Linked DNA regions of Homo sapiens: regions 1, 2, 3, 4 and 6 are each linked to region 5. Evidence: promoter capture Hi-C in 16 types of primary human blood cells and fetal thymus (Javierre and others, 2016). All regions are on one chromosome and are shown on one strand. The core of a region is centred on a gene start or on the middle of the fragment in contact, and the rest is flanking DNA. Distances in the headings are between cores, read along the strand shown. Region 1 overlaps SHE (Src homology 2 domain containing E). Region 2 overlaps LOC124904427 (a long non-coding RNA gene). Region 3 overlaps ADAR (adenosine deaminase RNA specific). Region 4 holds the start of HCN3 (hyperpolarization activated cyclic nucleotide gated potassium channel 3). Region 5 holds the start of FLAD1 (flavin adenine dinucleotide synthetase 1). Region 6 overlaps CHRNB2 (cholinergic receptor nicotinic beta 2 subunit).

The links. Contacts are between HindIII fragments. The CHiCAGO score rates a contact against its expected background, and 5 or more counts as called.
Region 1: a contact is called between a fragment that was not itself captured here and the fragment with the promoter of FLAD1 in region 5, in 1 of 17 cell types (neutrophils). The highest score is 5.1, in neutrophils.
Region 2: a fragment that was not itself captured here is called in contact with the fragment with the promoter of FLAD1 in region 5 in 1 of 17 cell types (fetal thymus); the score reaches 5.2 in fetal thymus.
Region 3: a fragment that was not itself captured here is called in contact with the fragment with the promoter of FLAD1 in region 5 in 1 of 17 cell types (total B cells); the score reaches 5.2 in total B cells.
Region 4: the fragment with the promoter of HCN3 here is called in contact with the fragment with the promoter of FLAD1 in region 5 in 1 of 17 cell types (monocytes); the score reaches 5.6 in monocytes.
Region 6: a fragment that was not itself captured here is called in contact with the fragment with the promoter of FLAD1 in region 5 in 2 of 17 cell types (fetal thymus and endothelial precursors); the score reaches 5.8 in fetal thymus.

Annotation. Positions count from the first base shown.
Region 1 is chr1:154,475,917-154,480,077 of GRCh38, reverse strand. SHE (Src homology 2 domain containing E) reads left to right here. Exons shown (of 6, transcript NM_001010846.3): 6 at 1-597. Among named protein-coding and RNA genes, the nearest start is that of TDRD10, 24 kb to the left of the region's middle. The HindIII fragment of the contact is 5,610 bases long and covers 1-4,095 here.
Region 2 is chr1:154,628,853-154,632,953 of GRCh38, reverse strand. LOC124904427 (a long non-coding RNA gene) reads right to left here. Exons shown (of 2, transcript XR_007066635.1): 2 at 558-1,396. Among named protein-coding and RNA genes, the nearest start is that of ADAR, 23 kb to the right of the region's middle. The HindIII fragment of the contact is 4,396 bases long and covers 1-3,824 here.
Region 3 is chr1:154,595,078-154,599,297 of GRCh38, reverse strand. It overlaps ADAR (adenosine deaminase RNA specific), which reads left to right. Exons shown (of 15, transcript NM_001111.5): 3 at 713-896; 4 at 1,322-1,470; 5 at 2,031-2,175; 6 at 2,303-2,493. Among named protein-coding and RNA genes, the nearest start is that of ADAR, 11 kb to the left of the region's middle. The HindIII fragment of the contact is 5,008 bases long and covers 53-4,220 here.
Region 4 is chr1:155,275,403-155,279,404 of GRCh38, reverse strand. It overlaps HCN3 (hyperpolarization activated cyclic nucleotide gated potassium channel 3), which reads right to left and starts at 1,942. Exons shown (of 8, transcript NM_020897.3): 1 at 1,537-1,942. The coding sequence starts at 1,814. The HindIII fragment of the contact is 9,883 bases long and covers 1-2,824 here.
Region 5 is chr1:154,980,817-154,984,774 of GRCh38, reverse strand. FLAD1 (flavin adenine dinucleotide synthetase 1) reads right to left here and starts at 1,431. Exons shown (of 7, transcript NM_025207.5): 1 at 709-1,431. The coding sequence starts at 1,080. RefSeq lists a silencer at 1,519-1,698 and enhancers at 1,581-2,178, 2,779-3,376. The HindIII fragment of the contact is 2,398 bases long and covers 1,348-3,745 here.
Region 6 is chr1:154,569,790-154,573,678 of GRCh38, reverse strand. CHRNB2 (cholinergic receptor nicotinic beta 2 subunit) reads right to left here. Exons shown (of 6, transcript NM_000748.3): 3 at 3,843-3,887; 4 at 3,312-3,421; 5 at 1,518-2,490. Among named protein-coding and RNA genes, the nearest start is that of CHRNB2, 4.0 kb to the right of the region's middle. The HindIII fragment of the contact is 3,612 bases long and covers 540-3,889 here.

The sequences.
Region 1 (4,161 bases), core at 41-2,540, 500 kb after region 5:
GGCCTTCTGTTCAACTTACCCTCCACCGCTGACCCTGTGTGAAGAGAGATGGTGCGTTACTGCCATCTAATGGGAAAAGAGAAAACTGCAGTTGGGAAAAGCAGCTGTGCATTTAAGGGTAGGGCTTTCTGAAGGATTTCTGATACAGTCCAGAAAAGGGAAAATGATGACACAGCAGTTGCCATCTTGAAAAATGCCCTTTCCTGCGGAAAGGGTGTTTTGAAGTCTAATACAACTATCATCACAAGGTCCCTGGACTAAGGCTGGATCGTGTAATTTAGAATCTCAAATTGTATTTTAATTAATATGCTGGCAACAGAATCATTGAAACAGGCGTCTCATTTTGTCAAGTTCTTAGCCGTTCAGTTTGTCAGGGGCTTTAATATTTTAGATATCAACTAATACATAGTTTCAACTTTTAAAAATGTTTGAAGATTGTATGTAATATAGGTGTCTATCTATAGTGCCTTAGTAATTTAAATCAGAAATATTTTATAAAACTTCTGGTTGTTTTGCAGTAGCCAATATAGGCTTCATGCCCTCCTGAAGATAGTTTCCTCTGAAATGTAACTTTAAATAAACATTATTCCAAGAAAACTACAGTGGTTTTGCTTAATTCAGTTAGCTCTGAGAATCATCTTCCTTCAGAAAAATACTTCCCATGGTAAGAGCTACAGCAGAGTTTCATTTGCAGTCACCATTAATGAAATATAGAAACACCATGATGGAACATAACCAGCAGATTCTATCTTTTATTTACTCTGTTCACATTTAGAGTCCTTCTATTATGTTTTTCTTCCCAAGTAAAATAGTAATACAGTGATGTTTTACTGCCATTTCCTGGCCCATCTCTTCCTGAGTCGAAAGTTAGTGCACTGGTTCTCATCCCTCACTAGATAGAAGATTTGGGCTCTGCTTCTGTTTTTATCAGTTTGTTATTAATACAAATGTCCCATGCCATCTGTGGGATGCCCTAAGTCTGTTGCAAAGTTCAAAAACCTATTTTAAAAAAAAATTGTACCAGGTGATTTGGATACACAGCCAATGGTGGAGAAGCCCTGTTGGAAGCTCCTATTTGGAAATGCACAAATAAATTCACGTCAGGTCCTAGAAGGGCATACTGTTGAGTCTGCTATCAAAAAGTTTTCCCCTCCAAAATTCCTAACATGGTTTCAAGTTTTTAACTTCCATTAAACATTTATGTAAGTTGCCACCAGGTGGAACAAGTGCCTATTGTTTTAACCCATCTGTGTTTAAGAGAAGAGGAAGTTTGCATTAAGAAATGCTCCCGCCACCCACCACCCGAGCAATTAGAGTAATGGTTTTCAGAATTCAGATTGAACACGTGTTTACAAGCACCCAGGGTTTGAGTGTTGAATGTTGGATTCTGACCCTGTGAAAGGCCAAGATGTAAGTAGTGAGAATAGACTCTTTTTCCGCACCAGGTGTGCTGCTGAACAAATGCTTTTCATCATACAGCATCTCATTTAATCTGCCACAACTCAGCCAGGTGGGAACCTTGTTTTTCAGATAAAAACACGGGTGCTTAGAATGATGAAATAACTTGTCTTGGGTCAGTCATAGTAAGTGGTAGAGCCCAGATTGCGGCCCAGGTCTCACTCTAGAGTGTTTTTTTTTTTTTTTTTTTTGCACTTTTTATGATTTCATTTAAAAACAAAACATAGACTGAGTTGTCTGTTCATTTTCTTCGCTGCACAGCCTGGCCTTGGGAGTGGTGACTGATGGCCCACGGGGCTGCTCGCTCCACAGTGGCCTTGTGGTTCTGGAGGAAACATTGTGAGCAATCTCAGCTCAGTATAATTTGTTGCACATCAGCAGCGCTTCATTCCGGCTCCTTGACCTTGTAGACCAGGAACTTCTGGAAGCCACTGGGCAGGGTGTGCTTCATTATCTTGCTACTCCCATAACTGACGCTGGCAATACAGCAGAGTATCATTCAGCCTCAACAAGGAAGGGAATCCTGACACAGACCATTACGCTGAGTGAAACCCGTCAGTCACAAAAAGACAAATACTGTATGATTCCACTTACATGAGGTACCCAGAGTAGTCAAATTCATAGAAAGTAGAATGGTAGTTGCCAGGGGCTGGGGAAGGAGGAAATGGGGAGTTGTTTAATGAGTGCAGAGTTTTCTTTTCTTTTCTTTCTTTTTTTTTTTTTTTTTTTGAGACAGTGTCTTGCTCTGTCGCCCAGGCTGGAGTGCAGTGGTGCAATCTCAACTCACTGCAACCTCCACCTCCCAGGTTCCAGCAATTCTCCTGCCTCAGCCTCCCAAGTAGCTGGGACTACAGGCATGCGCCACAACACCCAGCTAATTTTTGTATTGTTAGTAGAAACGGGGTTTCACCATGTTGGCCAGGCTGGTCTCAAACTCCTGACCTCATGTGATCCACCAGCCTTGGCCTCCCAAAGTGCTGAGATTATAGGCATGACCCACCATTCCCAGCCCAGAGTTTCTGCATGAGATAATGAAAAGTCCTGGAGATTGGGTGCACAACAATATGAATGTAGTTAACACTGCTGAACTGCACACTTAGAAATGGTTAACATAGGCCAAGTGTAGTGGCTTATGCCTGTAATCCCAGGGCTTTGGGAGGCCAAAGTAGGCGGATCACTTGAGCGAAGGAGTTCGAGACCAGCCCGGGCAACGTGGTGAAACCCCATCTCTTATAAAAAAAATTAAAATAGGTGGTTAAGATGGTAAATTTTATGTTAATGCATTTCTTACCACACACACAAAAATGCCAGTCTATTATCTTACAATGGAAATGCATCTAGCAGACTGGACATTCAGGTCACCTGTGTGATCAATGTGCTCTCTACCCATAGAGGGGCACATGGACTCAGAGCAAGGGAAAAAGGAATTGGGTTTTCGGTATCCATCTCCACCTCCAGGACAATCCTCTGCTGGGTCTGGCAAGTTGTGTCCATGGGCCTAGGCAGCCTTTCCCCTGCTTGGGAGAGGCTCTGCCTGTAGAACTGGGTAGTGTGAAGTCCTGAAGGTCATTTAAGCTCTGATAAACATACCTTGAGGAGATTCAGTGTGAGGCATGAGGTTATCATTTCCAGAATCCACAGGTAGCACCAGAATTACTTCCCCTTTGTGAATCATGTAGTATGAATCACTGTAATGTCTTGATTCAAATTTAAAATACTTTCTACATGACATTTTTAAATGATTGCCTTCTAATTTATGTGCATAAATAAACAGGTTTACTAATTTGGATTGAGGGAAAGATAAATTATTACTTGATGAGCACATAAAAGCCAATTTGTTGATCAAGCTATCAACCAGCATGTTGTTGGCAAGAAACATATTTTACTTAAAAGATAAAAAAGGTGTGGATTATTTCAGATTGCTTTATTCTACTTTTTTTTTTTTCTGAGACGGTATGGATTATTTTGGATTGCTTTACTTTTTTTTTGAGACAGAGTCTCACTCTGTCGCCTAGGCTGGAGTGCAGTGATGCAATCGTGGCTCACTGCAACCTCTGCTTCCCGGGTCCAAGCCTCAGCCTCCTGAGTAGCTGGGATTATAGGTGCCCACCACCACACCTGGCTAATTTTTGTATTTTTAGTAGAGACGGGGTTTCACTATGTTGGCCAGGCTGATCTCAAACGCCTGACCTTGTGATCTGCCTGCCTCGACCTCCCAAAGTGCTGGGATTACAGGCATGAACCACCGTGCTCGGCCTGATTTTACTTTATTTTTGAGACAGGGTCTTCTCTGTTTCCCAGGCAGGAGTGCGATGGTGTTATCATGGCTCACCACAACCTTGACCTTCTGGGCTCAAGCAATTCTCCCACCTCAACTTCCCAAGTGGCTGGGACCACAGGTGTGCGCCACCATACCTGGCTAATGTTTTGAATTTTTGTAGCGACAAGGTCTCACTATATTGCTTAGGCTGATCTCGAACTCCTGGGCTGAAGCAATCATCCTGACTCAGCCTCCCAAAGTACAAGGATTGTAGGTGTGAGCCACTGCACCGTCCTGGACTGCTTCAGATGGTGTACTTGCAAGAGAAACATTCTTTCTAAAACCCTTGCACGTTTTAAAATGGAGAATCTCAAGCTTTTTTAGAAACTAATACAATGGGCTGGGCACAGTGGCTCATGCCTGTAATCCCAGCACTTTGGGAG
Region 2 (4,101 bases), core at 377-2,876, 350 kb after region 5:
TGGGGTCTCACTATTTTGCCCAGGCTGGTCTCAAACTTCTGGGCTTAAATGATCCTCCAGCCTCACCCTCCAAAAGTGTTGGGATTACAGGTGCGAGCCACCATGCCTGGCAAGAACATATCTTTTAAATAATGAGTCAAAGAAGAAACTACAATAAAAATTTAAATATTTTTGAACTGAATAATAATAAAAATGTTATATATCAAAACTTGTGGGATACAGAAAGCAGTGCTTTGAAGGAAATTTACTGCCTTAAATGTTTTTAAAGACAAGAAAAACATGGCTGAAAATTAATAAACTAAACACACAACTTTAAGAAATAACAGAATAAACTCGAAGAAAATGGAAGGAAGGGGATAATTATAAGAGCAGAACTAGAGATAGAAACGAAATAGAAAACAGGGAGAATCAACAAGGACAAAGTTGGTTCTTTGAAAAATACCAACAAAATAAATAAACCTCTGCAATGATTTATCTAAGAAAAAATGATAAGAAGTTAAAGGCAAATAATTTTTATCAGTCAGTTTTCACTATAATATGCTTTGGTAACTACAAAATCCCAAATCTCTGTGTTTATTTCTTATTTGCTATATATGTTGACTCTGCTGGGCTCTCCTCCACATGTATTCTTCATTCTGGGGTCCCCAATCACGCACATGCCATTCTCATGGAAGAGAGAAAAGAGCAAGAAAGCTGGTAGAAACATGTACGATATCTTTTAAAGTTTCTGTTCATGTACGATGATCAAGCCCATTGACAGCTGGTTGGGTATGCATTCTTCTGTCACAAGAGTCACCTCAAGTCACATAGCATTAGGTAGAAATGTATAGTCCTCTTATAAGAAAAGGAACAAATATTTGGAGAGCAATAACACAGTCTACCACAAGTAATATTATAAATGAAAAAAGAGCTATAAATACAGCAGAGATTAAGAAGATAATACAATCAATAACTATGCCAATGAGCTTAAACCCTTAGATGACATGGAAAAAATTCTAGAACCTATTATTTTATTAAACTGACTCAAGGAGAAAGAAAATAATTGAACAGTTTCATAACTATTAAATAAACCAAAGTCGTATTTTACAAACTTCACACAAGGAAAATACCCAGCCGAGATGGTTTTGCTGTGCTGTTCTGTTCTGTTTTGTTTGGTTTTTGTTTTTTGGAGATGGAGTCTTGTTGCTCAGTCTGGTCTTGAATTCCTTGCCTCAAGTGATCCTCCTGCTTGAGCCTCTCAAGTAGTTGAGATTATAGGTGTAAGCCACTGCACCCAGCTCCAGACAGTTTTACTGGTGAATTCTACTGATGCTTGAAAGGAAAATCACTCCAATCTTATTAAAATTCTTCCAGAGGATACAAAAAAAGGGAATACTCCTTATGTCACTTTATGAGCCTTGAAACCCAAACAGATCAAGACAGAATGAGAAAGGAATATCACAAGTCCATGTTTTTCATAAACACAAACGCAAAAATCCTACATAGAATATAACATAGACATAGAATATATAGAGCACAATAGCATATAAAATTGAGACTTTATGGTCCAGTTGTTTATCCTAGGAATGCAAGGATAAGTAGTTTAATATAAAATCTATAAATGTCATCTACCATATTAACATATTAAAGGGAGAAAGAAATTGTGTGATGATTTCAATAGATGTAGAAATAAATTAAATTCAAATCCATTCAAGATTTTTAAATTTTATTCAACTAGGAATAAAAGGTACCTTCCTTAACCTGATAAAGGAGATTTACAAAACGCCTACAAAAATATCATTCTAAATGTTTTATCATAAAATATACAAAAATAATACTAAGTTTCCCTTTCGAATATCAAGAGCATCAAGAATGCCCACTATCACCATTTCCAATAACACTGTACTGGAACAATGCACTGCCTTCTCCCCCAAACCAGTGTAACACTTTTTTTTTTTTTTTGAGATGGAGTCTGGCTCTGTCGCCCAGGCTGGAGTGCAGTGGTGCAATCTCAGCTCACTGCAAGCTCTGCCTCCCGGGTTCACTCCATTCTCCTGCCTCAGCCTCCCAAGTAGCTGGGACTACAGGCACCCGCCACCACGCCCGGCTAAGTTTTTGTATTTTTAGTAGAGATAGGGTCTCACCATGTTAGCCAGGATGGTCTCAATCTCCTGACCTCATGATCTGCCCGCCTTGGCCTCCCAAAGTGCTGGGATTACAGGCATGAGCCACTGAGCCTGGCCAAACCAGTGTAACACTTTAAGATAGATAAAAAGCAATAAGGGTTGGGCGTAGGAAAGGGGGAAACTGGCATTATTTTCAGATAATGATTGTTTACATACAAAATCCAAAAGAATCAATAAATAAATTACTACAAACAAGAGTTTAGCATTGTGGCTGGATACAATATCAATGTACAAAAATCAAATTTATTTCTATATGATCATCAAAAAATTAGAAAGCATATTTTTAAAGGACATCACTTATAATAGCAACAAAAACTACAAAGAATCTAGGAATAAAATCCCCAAAAGATGTGCAAGATCTGGACAAAGAGAATAATAAATCCAAATTAAAGCATTAATGAAGACCTAATAAAAAGAAAGTTATCCCTTGCTTATGGAAGACTCAGAATCATAAAATGTCAATTCTCTCCAAATTTATATATTAGTTATTTATTATTCAATGCAATGCCAACAGGTTTTTGTTGTTGTTACTGCTGCGTGTGTGTGTGTGCAACTTGTTTGTGTGTGCAACTTGAGATGCTTGCCTTAAAATATGGGAAAACTAAAGACCAAGCATAGCCCAAAAAAAGAAGATGGATGAAGAATAAAAGGGAGATTTTGCACTACTAAATATCAAGACTTTTTATAAAGCTGTGGTAATTAAATAATGTGGTGTTGACATCAAGATAGACAAATTTTCCAGTGGAAGAGAATAGATAGATCAGAAATAGACCCATAAGTAACTGGAATGTTGATATATAACAAAGTTGGGAAAGGTGGGAAAGTTGGGAAAGGTGGGGCTAGTCAATAAACAAACCTGGGGAAAAATAAAGGTCATTTGTATGTAAAAAGTAAAATGGGATCCCTACCTCACACCATATACAAAAGTAAATTCCAGAGAGAATAAGGATTTAAAGATTTTTAGGAGTAAGAGTAAGTGAATAAATATTAGGGTACGGGGAAAAGAAAAACAGGATAAATATTAATAAATTCAAAGTTAAGAACATCTACCAAAATAGAAAATGAAAGGATACATATGGAAGGATAAATTTGCAACACATATAACTGATGAAGAATCAGTGCCCTAAGTTTGTGAATAATGTAGCAAACAATCCACTAAAACAATAATAAAAGACTCAAACTGACTGTTATATAAAGAGCCAAAGATGGCCTCTGTATCTGGGTCCCTGAGTTGTTTATTTCTTCACAGCAAGCTGGTATCTATTATCTCAAAAGCCTTTCAGCACCTAACTCAAATGTTTATACATCCAGGCATTTTAAATATAACACAACTAAGCAGATTTTTAGGCATTTAGAGCTGCTTGCCTGCTTTGTATACCTCATGAAACTGTGCCCAACATCTGTTAGTCATAGATAAGATAAATCTGTGGTTTATGAAGACTCCAATTTGCTGCTGCCCTTGGGAGCTTTCTGAAACAGAGACTTCCCACAGGCCGCTGAACAACATCACCTGGACATGGTAAGGCCACTCTCTTCTGGAAGTTTCCTTCTCTTTTCCCCTTTTGGATGGTTCCTCTCCACCCCCAATCTCTGGATCTTCTCATGCTGCCAAGGACTTCCCCTAAATACAAACCTGTCAAAGCTCACACAAATAAAGCTTGAGTGTGCTACTGTCACCTCCTGGTCATATATTTTTTCTTGCTCAGCCCTAAAAATCCCTCAAATGCCCTACACTGACATTTCACAGAAGAGAAACTACAGATGGACAATACATATTTAAAAGAGATGCTTAACCTCAATAAGGGCAGTTTGAGACCATGCATTAGCAAAAGCCAAGAAATCTGAGGTGTTAGAGAAGATGTGGATGCTGGTAGGAGTATAAACTGGTACAACCACTTTGGATAAAAATTTGGTACTATCATATAAAGTGGAATAC
Region 3 (4,220 bases), core at 1,307-3,806, 390 kb after region 5:
TTTTCTAAATGAAATCCCAGACTGAGCAAAGAGCTCACCACATTTGAAAGCTTGAACAAAGGGGGCCTAGGCTAAGTCCAGAGGCCTAGAACAAATGCTTTTTTATTTTCTACATAACAAGGGGAAATTCCTTGTTATGTAGAAAATAGCTGGAGACAAATGGTGCTATAGAGTGACTCATAACAAACTACGGTGATATAGGTCTAGGGACAAAAGCAGGCCACTGATAAGTGGCAGATGCCTGATCCCCCTAGGTAGTGGGGAGTGTGAGACTGGGTTATAAGAAGCCTTCACTATCTTTTAGGACCCTCCCTTGAGGAGGCCAGTCTACCACAATTGCTTTAGAATGAAGGTCTTTTGGTTGCTCACAAGACTATAATGGTAATTTTTGGCTCATCATTTTTGTGTGTGTGGGTTTTATCTTAATTCATTGTTAAAGAGATAGTGGGTTTCCCCTGAGCTAGTTTCCTATCATCTGTGCCTATGTTTGCTTCACTGAGCTATGGGGAAAGAGTCACTGGCTGCTTTGTTTACAAAAAGAAAGGACAGGCTGAGCCTTAAGGAGTAGGAAGGAGTTCCTTGGCCTACCCTTCATCTCCACAAGTGAAAAGCCCCTTAGCGTAGCAGAAAATTCCAGGTTGAAGGTCTCTTTGGAGAAGGCAGAAGGAGTGACCTAGACTCCTGTTCACACATCTAATCACTTTCCGTCAAGATTTAAATTCCAGGTTGTCATCAATGGCCGAGAGTTTCCCCCAGCTGAAGCTGGAAGCAAGAAAGTGGCCAAGCAGGATGCAGCTATGAAAGCCATGACAATTCTGCTAGAGGAAGCCAAAGCCAAGGACAGTGGAAAATCAGAAGAATCATCCCACTATTCCACAGAGAAAGAATCAGAGAAGGTAGGTGTCCTCCTGCCATCTGGGAGGATCAGTTCCCTGTCAGTGTCTGGATTGTAACTGACTCCCTTGAGGCAATCCCAGCCTAAACAACTGACACCATCTCGGAGTCAGCTTCCCACTCTTCCCTCTACCCTATCTCGCCAGCCCACCTTTCCTCCTCTCATACCCAGCTCCTCTGTCTGCTCCTGTCCCAACATAATTGGATTTACAGAATTTCGGACTTGAAAGAGACCTGAAAGTTTATTGAGGCCAATCTCCTCTCTTGGAAGATGCGGAATGAGAGCTCCAGCAGCCCCTTTAACTTTGGGAAGCCAACCCCTTGACAGGTGGTGGGAATAAAGTCCCCCATCCCCATCCCTTCTTCTGTGATGGACTAACCAGTGTTTTCTTAGTTTTGTTTTCTTCTTGTCTCTCATTTTCTCTAGACTGCAGAGTCCCAGACCCCCACCCCTTCAGCCACATCCTTCTTTTCTGGGAAGAGCCCCGTCACCACACTGCTTGAGTGTATGCACAAATTGGGGAACTCCTGCGAATTCCGTCTCCTGTCCAAAGAAGGCCCTGCCCATGAACCCAAGTATGTCCTACGTGTCCTCTGTCCAGCTGAGGTTTTCTCAGAAAGAAAAAGAGACACATTTTCTTCCTTGCCTCCTCAGGGATGGCAGATTGACCAATTTCTCCTGTTTCAAAATGGGGAAAGGAGGGCTCTGAGGTCCTGGTTGCTGCTTGTGAGGCAGACAATTAGGGATTAGGAATTCAAAGGGAATTCCTGGCCCACCCTCTATCTCCTCTATAAGCACTAGGGAGGTTCACGGCTTGGAGGTCACTCACTGTTGGTGGGACAGAAAGGTACAGGACCTGAGAAGCTCTCTGCCTGTGGGTCTATAGACTCACATGTTCAAGAGAAGTGTTCCTGGAAGAGGTGAAACTAGGTTGATGCTTAAATGTTGAAAGGGGTCAGCCAGGCTAAGAGACACTGGCTGTTCAAGGCAGAAGTGACTGCATGAGATGTGACTGCACAGAGGTGATGTGTTCAAGGAAATTACCAGTAGTGGAGGATGGCAGCCTGGCAGAGGCTAGGTCAGGCTCCTCAGTCAAAACCATTTTAATCCTTCTACGTGCTTCATCTCCTGTCAGGTTCCAATACTGTGTTGCAGTGGGAGCCCAAACTTTCCCCAGTGTGAGTGCTCCCAGCAAGAAAGTGGCAAAGCAGATGGCCGCAGAGGAAGCCATGAAGGCCCTGCATGGGGAGGCGACCAACTCCATGGCTTCTGATAACCAGGTAGGGCGTTTTCCTACTCAAAAGATACAGGTCATTTTTAGCAACTGAGTGGTTTAAGATTGCCAGTGACTCCCTCAACATTTCCTGAAGTGTTTATGGCTCCTCTGTTTGATGGATTCTCCTTTAGCCTGAAGGTATGATCTCAGAGTCACTTGATAACTTGGAATCCATGATGCCCAACAAGGTCAGGAAGATTGGCGAGCTCGTGAGATACCTGAACACCAACCCTGTGGGTGGCCTTTTGGAGTACGCCCGCTCCCATGGCTTTGCTGCTGAATTCAAGTTGGTCGACCAGTCCGGACCTCCTCACGAGCCCAAGTGAGTGTCCTAGTCCTGGCTAATGCATGTGTCACCAGTTGGGGATGGTCTGTAACCCAGGGAAAACAAGGGTGTGCTTTAGCTGTGTAGGACAGAAGGGGCGAGTTGAGGGAAACAAGTCCAGCCCTGTCTCCACGGCCTCTTAGAAGACAATAGACCTGCCAAGAGTGAATGCGTTCACTCTTCCAGTAAGCATGATCCTTTTTAATTTTTTGACTAGTTTTAATTTTTAAAGAAATGTATAGGTACATTAAAAAATCATTCAGGCCAGACATGGTGGCTCACGCCTGTAATCCCAGCACTTTGGGAAGTTGAGGCAGGTAGATTACCTGAGGTCGGGAGTTCAAGACCAGCCGGACCATATGAGGAAACCCTGTCTCTACTAAAAATACAAAAATTAGCTGGGCGTGGCAGCGGGTGCCTGTAATCCCAGCTACTCGGGAGGCAGACAGGAGAATTGATTGAAGCTGGGAGGCGGAGGTTGCAGTGAGCTGAGATCGCACCACTGCACTCCAGCCTGAGCAACAGAGCAAGACTCCATCTTGAAAAAAATCATTCAAGCTGATTGAAAAAGTAGTCATTTCAATGAAAAGTCTCATTTCCGTCTCAGACTTCTAGTTTCCCTCCCTAGACCCATATATTACTATAGCCCTGCATTAGCAACTGGGATGCGGTCTGAGAAGCATGGTTTTGTTGTTGTGAGAACATCAGTGTGTATTTACATAAACCTAGATGGCATGGGCTCCTACACACGTACAGGCTGTATGGTATGGCCGGTTGCTCCTAGGCTACAAACCTGTACAGCATGTAACTGTAGTGAATACTGTGGGCAGCTGCAACACACTGGTAAGTATTGGTGTCTATCTAAACAGCAAAAAGATACAGTAAAAAGACAGCATAAAGGATTAAAAAAATACTACACCTGTATAGGGCGCCTGCCATGAATGGAGCTTGCAGGACTAGAAGTTGCTGTGGGTGAGTCAGCCAGTGAGTGGAGAATGAATATGAGGGCCTAGGACATGACTGTACACTAATGTAGGCTTTGTAAACACTGTTCACTTAGGCTAACTACATTTATTTAAAATATTTTTCTTTAATAAATTAACCTTAGCTTACTGTAACTTTTTTACTTTATTTTTACTTTATTTTTTACTTTATTAACTTTTTTATTTTTTGTTCCTTTTGTAATAATACTTAGCTTAAAACACAAACATGTTGTACTGCTATCCAAAAATATTTCCTTTGTTTATATCCTTAATTCTATAGTCTTTTTTCTGTTTGTAAATTTTTTTATTTTTTTAACTTTTTAAACTTTTTTGTTGAAAGCTAAGATGAAAATACATTAGCTGTTAGCCTAGGCCTACACAGGGTCAGGATCCTCAGTATCACTGTCTTCCACCTCCACGTCTTGTCCCACTGTAAGGTGTTCAGGGGCAATAACATGCATGGGGGCCGTCATCTCCTATGGTAACAGTGCTTTCTGGAATACCTGCCTGAGGCTTTTTTTAGTTACTTATTTTTCTAGAAGTAGAAGGAGTATACGCTGAAATAATGATAAAAATATAGTAAACACATAAGGAGCGTGTAGCCTAGATCCCTCGCATTCACAGTTCACAGTCGAGTTCACACTCCTACAAGAATCTCATGCTGCTGCTGATCCCACAGGAGGCGGAGCTCGGACCAGAATGCTTTCTTGCTCGCCACTCACCTCTTCCTGTGTGCCCAGG
Region 4 (4,002 bases), core at 693-3,192, 290 kb before region 5:
TGGCCTCCCTGTGTCCACTGGGACTCTGGCTGAGCACAGGCAGAGGCATGGGCAGGGGTGAGTGACATTGCTGTGGCAGACACCGTGGAAAGAAGAGGTCAAGAGGGAACTGTGTGAAGCCCTCATTCAGAGAATGGCACAGGAAAATCTCAGGGACTCAGTTACCTATGGTGGTTTTAATTCTAGGACACACCTAATCCCAGTGTCAACTCAGGAGCTAGCCCCTTCTGACTCGGACTGCAAAATCAATTTTCAGCCCTGAAAGAAACTTCCTCAAGTCCGGGCCTCTGGGAAGCCCCTTAGACTGTATGTTTTCAATAAACAAAAACCCTCGGCCATTCTTCTTTTCTCTCCTCGGCTGCTGAGGAGGAATCCTGTATTGTGAGACACTAAGAGAGGGGAGGGAAAGAGGGTTCGCCTAGCCATGAAAGCATCTTCACAGCCTGACTCACAGGTGGGTCACAAGCCTGGCGGGTGATGTAGTATAGAGAATGGAGAAGCACAATCAGAGGGATACCAGGCTTCTGGGGATCCGTCTGCGAGTGAACTGAGGGAAGAGAGTGAGATCCACAGGAGACTAGAAAAGGCGCACTGGCTGGGTGGGAACGAGGCAGCAAAGACAGGAGTGAAAGGAACAATGGGAGGAAGAGAGACATAGAGGGAGTGTGTATATATGTGGATTCAAGATAATGTCTGGGTCTACAACTGTATTTCGAGGCTCCAGATTCACACCTCTTCCTCTCTGCTTCTTTAGTTCCCCAGGTTAGGTGCTTTGCACACATCCCTGCCTCATCCAAGAGCTGTCCTTCATTTCCCCCAAGGACAGGGCTGCTGTCTTCCCCTAGCGACCTTGATGTAGAGGTACACCCTGACGGAGACTGTGAAATGGCCCCACCCCCACCCTCTGTTCCTTCTCTGGGAGTCACCTGGGTGGTGGTCCTGCCCCTGCTTTGCCGCCTCAGTCACTCTGAGTCTCGGCCCCGCCCCGCCGCCCCCGCCTTCAGCACTAGGGACAGCGACCAGAGCTGAGGTCTGGACCCCCCGCCCCCTTCAGCGTCCCTATTTTTCCTGGTAGTCTGTCATGCTGAACTAGGCAGGTGCTAAGGAGCGGGTGTGGGGATGGGAGATGGCGGAGCTCGGCTTCTCCCTCAGACTGGCCCCGATACTTAGAATATAATTTCCTAGATCTCCAGCAAGCAGGACTGGAGGAGGCAGGGGTCCCAAACTCTGGTAGTTCCTTTGGTCCGGATGGGGTCCCGGGTTCCTGAAAGAGGAAATCCAGGTCTCTGGAGATCCCCTGATGTCTGCTTGCCCCTTCTGGTGCCCCCAGCCTGTCCAGGCACGGAGGACCTCCGGCAGGGGATACCCGCCCAGGAATTCCCAGGCTAGACTGGTGCAAGTGACTCTCCCGCCCCACCAAGGGACCCCGGGCTGGAAATGAAGTGACCGTGGAGGGTGGGGCGGGCCGGGTCCCGGTGTCGCTGCCCGCGAGGGTGGGATTGATGTACCCTGCCCTCCCCGCCAAGCCCCCAATACCGGAAGTCGCTGTAGGGGTGGATGATCCAGGCCCCCGCTGACTTCACCCGCTCCTGCTCGATTTCCACTGCTTTGTGGCTGCCGAACACCCGAAGGGAGAACTTGTTGACCGTAGGCTGGAGCAGCGTCCCAAGGTGCCTCCTCTTAGGCTCAGGCCCAGATTTGGGGATCGGACCTGAGGCCGCGGTCGCAGGCGGGGGAGCAACGGGAGGCACCGCCTCCAGTCCAGGGGTCGCCCCTTCGCTGGCCCCCGCCGCCGGCCGCTGCTCTGCCTCCATGGCGCCCACCCCGCTTACACGCTCGGCCTCCTAGAGCCCTCTGTGGCCATCAGGTACCCGCAACCCCTCCAGAGCAGGAGTCGGCGCAGCCCCGCGGGCTCTAGCGGAGGCGTCGTAGGCTCGGAATCGCCGGCGCGCGGGGCGGAGGGGGTGTGTGCTAGACTGGCGGGCGGCGGGCGGGCTGCGCGGCGCCCCCTGGCGAGGGCCGCGCCAAGACCGGGCGGGGCTGGGACGCCGGGATCCTGGAGGAACTCCGAGAGGGGCGTGGCTTAGCAAAGAAGGCGGGGAGCGCAGCCTGAGCCAGGGAGAGGGCGTGGCCTAGCGTTGGCCTTTCATCCACTGAGAACCAGGGAGGAGGAGCCCCCTGCAGTGGCGGGAAAATCGGACGCGGGTTTGTAGCTTGAAGGACTTGGGAGGGAGAGGGATTGGGGACCAATGGAAGAAGTGGAAATGGCTTTTGGGATTCTTCTCCACTCTCGCCCAGGGACTTCTGTCCTGCTCCCGTCTTCTCTCAACACTGTCCTAGGCATATTCTTGTCTTTTGGTCTCCTCCGAACTGCTTCCCCTAGTATTTAATTTCCTAATTCATTCTGTCAGCCTTCACCAAGTGCAACTCTGCCTGTCATTGAGTGGATGCTGAGGAAACAAAAATGAATACAAAAGTCCTAGTCTTAGCATCTCCATGTAGTAATGGAAAACAACACAAAACAAAACAAAAACAAAGGCCTAGCCATAAAGCCACTGCTCATCTGTGCCCAACGACAGACAGGTAAATTGCAGTGCTATGCGAAGTGCTACAAATTCCTAAATATCTCAAATTCTCCCCTTCATCTCCAATTCTTATTACCACTGCCTCATTTCAAGCCCTCAGCATTTTTTCACTTAAATTACTTCGGAAACCTCTAAAAGAGTCTTCAACCTCTTCCAGGCCAATTCTTCTTCCATTCCCTGCCAGTTACCTTCCTAAAATCCAACTATGGCTGTGTCACTTGCTTGAAGCCCATCAAGCTTTCCCATCTTCTACAGGGGTACATTTAAGCTGCTTAGCATGGTGTACCAGGCCCAAAAAATTTGGACCTAGTTTCAACAGTCTCTCTTCTGACAGTCCCTCTCTTGAAAGCCACAGCCCCAATCATGCTGAAAGACTTTGTGCTGCCTTGTCTCTATGCTTTTGCAAATATTTTCTCTGCCTGGTATTCTCCTCCAATTCACTTTCGAACAGTTGGTTCAGATCTTGCTTTCTCTAGGAAACCTAGGAACACATTTCCAACTCTCCTTTCCTCAGGTAGGGTCTATTCTAGAGCTTTTTTACAGCAGCCAGGGCACCACTGTTTTGAGCAACTCATGTCACAGGGCTACCATTATTATTATTATTTTAGAGATGAGGTCACACTATGTTGCCCAGGCTGGTTTTGAACTCAGAGCTCAAGTGATCTTCCTGCCTTGGCTTCCCAAAGTGCTAGGATTACAGGCATGAGCATGGTCTCATTATTTATTTACAGATTTTCTCTCCTGTTAGATTGTGAAACTCTGAGAAACAGGAACCTTGCACCTGGCATAATTCTGGACACATAGTGGACATTCAGTAAATGCTTGTTGAATGAATTAATAATCTAGGAAAATGTTCCAGGAGGTGGAAGTGAAATCTTTACTTCTCTCTCCCCGACTCCTTCATTGATTGCTCTCCATGTTCTATTCCAGGGAACTTCTCTAAACTATGTCTGGTTATCTGATCTAACCTCCATCTGACCATCCTTCATCCAGCTCCTCTCTAATATTTCCTGACTTTATTTATTTACTCATTCTAGAGTCAGGGTCTTGCTCTGTTGCTCAAGCTGGAGTGCAGTGGTGTGATCATGACCCACTGCAGCCTCAAAGCAATCTTCCCACCTCAGTTTCCTGAGTAGCTGGGACTACAGGTGTGAGCCACCTTGCTCAGCTCCCTGACTTTAATATCGTTATTCTCAGATTATATTATTTCTCTTTCAATTGACCTTTCTGACCACTTCTCAATTCCTTCTGTAAAGTCTCTAACTCTTTCTCTTTCTCATTTTCTTTTTTTCTTTTCTTTTCTTTTTTTTTTTTTTTTTTTTTTGAGATAGAGTCTCACTCTGTCGCCCAAGCTGGAGTGCAGTGGCACGATCACGGGTCACTACAGCCTCAACCTCCCCAGGCTCAGGTGATCCTC
Region 5 (3,958 bases), core at 182-2,681:
TACGCTGAGTACCTTGAGTCATTTCCAAAAAGGCTGGGTAAAACTCTTTTTTTTTTTTTTTTTTTTGAGACGGAGTTTCGCTCTTGTTGCCCAGGCTGGAGTGCAATGGCACGATCTCAGCTCACTGCAACCTCCGCCTCCCACGTTCAAGCAATTCTCCTGCCTCAGCCTGCCAAGTAGCTGGGATTACAGGCATGCACCACCACGCCTGGCTAATTTTGTATTTTTAGTAGAGATGGGGTTTCTCCATGTTGAGGCTGGTCTCGAACTCCTGAACTCGTGATCCACCCGCCTCGGCCTCCCAAAGTGCTGGGATTACATGCGTGAGCCACCGCACCCGGCCAAAACTCTTAAATATACAATACACACACCTGTACCTCCTCTACTCGAGGGGCTTCCTGTCATTGTTGTGTAGCTCCTCTGCCCTCTACCATACTGCTTGGTAAATTGCAATGACCTTTTTATTTTTCTTTTTTTCAATCAGCTCTCTCAGGTTGAAAAATTGTAGGGACTTTGCTACAAGTTTTTCAGTAGAGTAATTGAAAGAATGAGGGTTAATTTTCCTCCAATATGCTGGATTCACTCCAGGATCCTACTGCAGCAAAGAGGCTCCCACCCTGTTTCACCTCCTTCCATGGAGGGATGTGCAGCAGGCCCTTAAGGACAGGAGAACGCAGCGCCCTCCCCCCTTTTCTGTCCCAGACACACCTTAAGGATCTCATCTCCAACAATGATGATGCCAGCCGTCACGCTGCGCCCCGGAGAAAGTTCAGAGGCCCTAGATGTCATGGTCCTGCCTTCTCTGCCCCTCTGCAAGGCCCTCCAGTAGCCACCCAGACCCCCAAATAGGGGTCGCAAGCACGGGGGGCCTGCCAGGTCTACAGGGCACTGGGGGCCATAGCCTGGGAACAGGGGGTCCTGGGTCGAGGGAACCTGGAGAAGCCAGAAAAGACAATGGGGGAGAGCAGGCGTGCGCGTGCTTCCTTCGAGGAAGACCCTAGTCTTCTCTAACCAGATCCTTGACAAGCGACTCCTTTGTTCCTGCCTCTGGAATAAACGTGTTCCCAAATCCCAACCCATGTCCTTTTAAATGTCTTGCTTAGCTCTAGTCTTAAAAACTTCTTCTCTCTTGAGAACCTACCACTTTAAGTGTCTTCCGTTTGCTGAGCTGGTCTCCTCAAGTGTCTGCTCTACCTTGGGCATCCGTACCCCTTTAAATGTCTACCTTATCCTGGGCCTTGGCCCTTTTCAATGCATTCGCTCTCCACCCCGGACCAAAATCCCGTCTCTTTCTACTTCAGGCTTCTGCACCCTTTCTAGCCCAGAATCCCTTCTTCCCACCAAGCTTCAGATTACTGAGCCCTCTTAGACTCTCACCTGCCTGTTCTGCCCCTTCACCGGCTCTTTCCCTTGTTCCTTTCCTCATGTCCCGGGGCAGCTTCCGTACTTAAAGTCCCGCCTTGCACCTAGCTGACATTGAATGGTGATTTTGGCTGTCGCTTAGACTCTTCCAGGGTCCCATTGGTGTATTCAACTGTCGCTCTCAGGCTTTAGCCAGTGGATGGGAGCAGGGCCGGATTGTTATAGGCGACAACCACGTGGTCACTTCTCGCCCGGAAATACGGGGGCCGGACCTTAGCCCACGGTCGGGGGCGGGACCTCGGGAGTTTAGGGCGGGAAAGGAGCCGTAGTTAAAGGTGCTGTAAGGCCCTCGGGGAGTTTCTGGTGCTGGATTCAAATAATTGTTATGCATGTGTTGCTTTGTTTTGTTTTGTTTAATGGGTCAGTTAGCCATGGTTTAAGCTGTTTTCATTCACCGTGACTCTAACACTAGGCTAAGGGCTTTTACTGGAGTGAGAAAGCATCTTATTTATAGCAGAAGGAAGTTGGAGGGACACCGAGAAAGATTATTACCACTGTCTGTCGGATATGAAGACCCTGGAGTAGGTGAGCTTTTGATGTGTGGAACCTTAATTTATCTCTAGTATAGTAGACAAAACGAATTACTTAAATCTCTTTGACAAGAAAGAGTCCAAAAACCCTCTCTTCCTCCACCTTGCTCCAGATGGTGCTTAGTTCAAATGACCTTTCCCAGTAATTGGTCTTGTAGGTGCAAATGAGGCAGCGAATAGGGAGTGCCTTACATGTTTACTCTGGATCCTCACATCATCCGAGCTTACCCCCATTTCAGTTGCCTTTGTTCTAAAAGTACATCTTAAACTTTTTTCCAACAATAATCTGGGGATCTTTTCATATGCAGATTGATTCAGTAGGTTTGGGTGGGGCCTGAGATCTGCATTTAGCTAGTTCCCATGTGATGGTGATCCCACTGCTCTATGGACTACATTTTGAATGGTAAGGGCCCGAATTCATTCTTTGTTTTTTTGAGACGGAGTCTCCCTCTGTCACCCAGGCTGGAGTGCAGTGGCGCGATCTCGGCTCACTGCAAGCTCCGCCTCCCGGGTTCACGCCATTCTCCTGCCTCAGCCTCCCGAGTAGCTGGGACTACAGGCGCCCGCCACCATGCCCGGCTTTTTTTTAAAAATTTTTTTATTTTCATTTTTTTTTTAGTAGAGACGGGGTTTCACTGTGTTAGCCAGCATGGTCTCGATCTCCTGACCTCGTGATCCGCCCGCCTCGGCCTCCCAAAGTGCTGTGATTACAGGCGTGAGCCACCGCGCCGGGCCGAATTCATTCTTTGTAGGACTGGTAAACCACACCTTGCCAAATTTTACTCTTCAAAACCCTTGGTCGGGCGCAGCACTTTGGGAGTCTGAGGAGGGAGGATTGCTTGAGTTCTCTCAATTGAAAAAAAGAAAAAAAGGCCGGGCGCGGTGACTCACGCCTGTAATCCCAGCACTTTGGGAGGCCGAGGCGGGCGGATCACCTGAGGTCAGGAGCTGGAGACCAGCCTGATCAACATGGAGAAACCCCGTCTCTACTAAAAACACAAAAAATTAGCCGGGCGTGGTGGCGGGAGCCTGTAGTCCCAGCTACTCAGGAGGCTGAGGCAGGAGAATGGCGTGAACCCGGGAGGCGCAGCTTGCAGTGAGCCGAGATTGTGTCACTGCACTCCAGCCTGGGCGACAGAACGAGGCTCCATCAAAAAGAAAAAAAATACCCTGTAAGATACACATCATGCTCATTTTACAGATGAGGAACAGGCTCAGAAAGGTGAAGGGATGCCACACAACCACAAAACACAGTGAATGGTGGACCCAGGTGATCAGGTGTCTAGACCATTCTTTTAAGTAATAAGCCCCCCCTCCCTTTTTTTTTTTTGAACCAGGGTCTCTCTGTTGCCCAGGCTCGAGTGCAGTGGCGCAAGCACCGTTCACTGCAGCCTCGACCTCCTGGGCTCAAGTGATCCTCCCATCTCAGACTCCAGAGTAACTGGGACCACAGGGGCGCCCCACCATGCCTGGCTAATTTTTGTATTTTTAGTAGAGACGGAGTTTGGTCATGTTGCGCAGGCTGGTCTTGAACTCCTGGGCTCAAGTGATTCCCTGCCTTGGCCTCCCAAAGTATTGGGATTACAGGTGTGAGCCCCCGTACTTGGCCCTCATTTCTTTCAATTATAAAAAGTCAGCTCTTTGAAAAAAAAAAAAAGGGCAAAACAAGAATTCCACTTGCCTAGTAAACCACATGTTCCAATATCTTTATTAGCAATACAGGTGATATTTGATCCCCTCCCAAAACAGAATACCAAGACTGTTCCAGTATTTTCCTAGTGGATTCTCAAGCTTAAGTGTACATCAGAATCAGCTGGAGAGCTTGTTAAAACATTGCTGTGCCCAATCCTGAGTTTAGGATTCAGTAGGTCTAGGTTGTTGCCCAATAATTTGCATTTCTAATGAATTTTCCCGATGTTGATGCCTGCTATTTTAGGAATAAGTGGATGGAAGACAGGAAAAATGGGGGAGATTAATATCCTTACTTAGTACTAGTATTTTTTTTT
Region 6 (3,889 bases), core at 1,096-3,595, 410 kb after region 5:
GATGCAGGAGCACAGGAGCTGAATCAGGGAGACTATTAGGAGACTCTTCTGCCCTAGGCCAGGCAAGAGCTGATGATGTCCTAGAACCAGGGTGTTAGCATGGAGATGCTGAAAAACAGATGAAGCTGAGAATGACTTTGGGGTTGTGACAGGACAAGACTTCTGATGAATTGGACAGAGAGGGAGGTGAGAAAGGACAGGATCAAGGATCCCTCTGGGTTTTCAGTCTGAGCCATTAAGTGAATGGTGATGCCGTGTACTAAAAACTGGTGGAGGAGCAAGTTGGTGGTTAGGATGTAGACCAAATACTCAGTTTTGAGCATGTTGAGTTTGAGGTGCCTGTGAAGCATCCAAGTAGGTCACCACATCCTCAGCACCTAGCTCGGTAAATGCACAATACATGCATGACTGCAGCAGGAGAGGTGGAGGCGGTAACCACAGCCTGCTGAGTCCCTGAATCCCAGCATCTCCCACTTGGCCTCAGCTGGCTCTAAGGTTCCCACCCCATCTCCTCTAGTGTATGCTCCCTGGTCCAAGCTTCAGCTCCAACCCATCTCCTGCTGTCCAGGGAAACAGATCTCTGAGGCCCACACCGCAGTGCCCTTCTTCATCCCCCAGCCAGAATGGCAGCTGTCCTAGAGGAAACCTGGCCAGTCACCATGGCAACAGCTGAGCCTCAGCCTGGAACCAGCCAGGTAGCCAGAGACTGACCACAGGGTGGGGCCGGCCCCTACCCAAAGTGCGGGGTCGGGGGGATGTCAGCCTATCATATCTCCCCCCAACTCTTGGCTCAGTCTCAAAGAAGCTCTCAGGGAACCCTGTAGAAGAAGCCAAAAGCCGGGTATGCAGAAAGCCTGAGGAAGGGGCCAAGGAGCCTTCCCCTTCACCCACCCCCATCTCCATAAATATTTCAGGAGGCCATCCCCTGGGACTCAGAAGAGCAGGGATATTGATTTAGGACTCCATGCTCTCCACCACAAGCAGGCTCCTGGAATCTCTAACCCCGCCACCAACGCCACCCCTCCCCCAATACACACCACTCCTACTGTCCTCAATGTTGCCCCCTCCTGCCTGTGTGGTGCACAAAAGACTCATCACTTGTGCTAAGAGCTGCAGGTTAACAACTTGGATGTGGGCATGCAAGCAGCGGGGGGTGGGGAGGGACTCTCGGGGTCACGGCCACAGGCTGGCTGCCAACCCTAAAGGGCCTCCTCGTGTTTCAGGCCTCCCTGCCCATATAACGATGCCCCAGCTCAGGCATTTTGCCCTGGGTGCTAGCCCTCAGGAAGCAGCAAGGTCATCTTCCACCGACTCCAATTTAGGCCGCACAATCTCCCGGAAGCCAACCCAGAAGGGCCCTAGCCAGCACCCAGGCCCGCAACACAGGCCTGACTCACATTTTCCTCCCCTACACTCCTACTACCTCTGCATGTCTATAGAACGCCGCTGCTTTCCAGATACCCGGGCCCTGGCAGACCCCATATCTCACGCCCGGGGTCCCAGCCTGCGGCACTCACGCTCTGGTCATCGTCCTCGCTCCGCATGTGGTCTGCGATGAAGCGCACGCCGTCCACCGCCTCCCGGAGGCCACAGCCACACGGCTCCCCTGAGCGCCCGGGGCCCGCCACTGGTGCAGGCTCAGCCCCGAAGGCCCCGGCCAACCCCTGCACCGACGCGCGGTTGACGAAGCACGTGCAGGAGTCGGCCCCTGGGGCTTCGCGGAAGAAGAGGGCTCCAGCGCCCTCGCGCTCACGCTGGCGTCGCCGCAGGCGCAGGCGCTGACGGGCGCAATGATGGCGTGGCTGCTGCATGAAGAGCAGCGCGGGCAGCTTCTCCAGGAAGACGACCTTCACCCAGGGCGCCATGGTGTGCGTGGTGGGCGAGCGGTGGTGCACGTTGAGCACGCACACGCTGGTGACGATGGAGAAGGTGACAAGCACCATGGTGAACATGAGGTACTTGCCGACGAGCGGCACGTCGAGGGAGGTGGGAGGCACGATCTTGGAGATGAGCAGCAGGAAGACCGTGAGCGCCAGCAGCACTGAGATGCACAACGTCATCTTCTCGCCACAGTCGGATGGCAGGTAGAAGACAAGGATGGCTAGCGAGGTGATGAGCACACAGGGGATGATGAGGTTGATGGTGTAGAAGAGCGGCTTGCGGCGAATGATGAAGTCATACGTGATGTCCACGTACGTAGAGTCGTCGGGGTTCTCGTTGCGCCGGCCCGGCAGCGCCACGATGTCCCACTCACCACTAGGTGTGAAGTCGTCCAGGCTGGCCACCTCACTCTTCAGCACCAAGTCGATCTCTGTGCGGTCGTAGGTCCACGAACGGAACTTCATGGTGCAGTTCTGCTGGTCAAATGGGAAGTGCTTTACTTCAATCTTGCATGCGCTCTTGTAGATGGCAGGCGGCAGCCAGAAGATGCTGCCATCATAGGAGACCACGGCATTGGAATAGAAGGACACCTCGTACATGCCGTCAGCACTGCCAAAGGATGGGCACAGTCAGCCCTGGCCTAAGCGTTCCTTCCTCCTTACCCATCAACCCAGCCCCTAATGGGAGGAGAGCAAAACCAGAGGGAGACATGGGGAGGGGACACCCAGATCTGAGAGTAACCATCCAGGAGTATAGAGAGGTGGAATTGAGCAAGAAGGGGATATGGGGAGGGGGGGGAAGGTTAGTGACCAGAAGAAGTGTCCTGGTCAGAAGGCCTGTGTGACACCTTGCAGGTAGAAGGGGGTGGTGGGTGGAGGAAGGGGACACATCTGCTACTTGTCACACATTGTATAAGCTGGTTGATCCTCATGAGGGTGGAGAAGTCAGGGGAGCCAGGAGGCCAGAGTGAGGAGCCCCAAGCAATGGAAGGGGACAGGGCATGGTCCCATCAGTTGAGGAAGGTGGCTTTGTACCCTAGAGATAAGATGGATTATTGCAGGAGACAGGATAGAACCTGGAGGAGAAACTGGGACCTTAAAGTTCTTTGATCCTTCCCAGGCTTCCAGGAAAGCCTGTTCCTGAATCAGTTGAGGCGCTGGGGGCTGTCAATACTTGTTTGTATCCCCACCACATCATCAAATACATACTGGGAGTCCTAACCGGCTGGGAGTGGGCTGGTCATTGCCCAGGTCACCTTGGCTGTCCACGCTGTACCTCACTGGTCTGGGTCTGTCTGTCTAGGTAGTGACTACATATCTATTATAAGTCCCTCCCCTCCCACAGCATAAGTAATTTCTCTTATTTTCCCCAGAACCCCTTCCCTCCCTGAGCCCTCCAATGGTCTCCCCCAACCTTCCCATTGCACCTACTTGTTGTACAGGACCACATCTGGGAGCCAGATGTGTTTGGAAGGGAGCCGAACTTTCTTCATGTTGTCAAACTCTTCAGGCTTCCAGGTGAGGCGATAATCTTCCCACTCCTGGGAAATGAGAGAGGGAGGCAGTACCAACTTGTGCCCTGGGTGGGGCTCAAGGTTAAGGAAACGAACTAGAGGGGGCCCATATGGCTTGAGGGACCTTTTAAAAGCCAGCCTCTTCCCCACAGTGACTTCTCTGCCCATCAGGTATGGCTCATGTGGTACTTTCTCATTTAATTTGCACAGCTAGGCCAAGGTACAGTATTAGAATCTACATTTACAAATGAGAAAATGAATCTTGGAGAGTTTAATATGTTTAAAGTCACAAGGCTGGTGAGTGCCAAGATTCAAATCCAATTGTTTAGGACTCCAAACTCTATACCTTTCTGCCTGTTTTGAGAGATTAAGAAAGAAAAAAGCACATGGGGAAAAAGGAGGAGAGAGAAGGCCAGGGGTGTGGGTGGAAGAGAGCACTTACGCTTACCTGGGTCAGCCAGACATTGGTGGTCATGATCTGCTCCCGCTCATGCT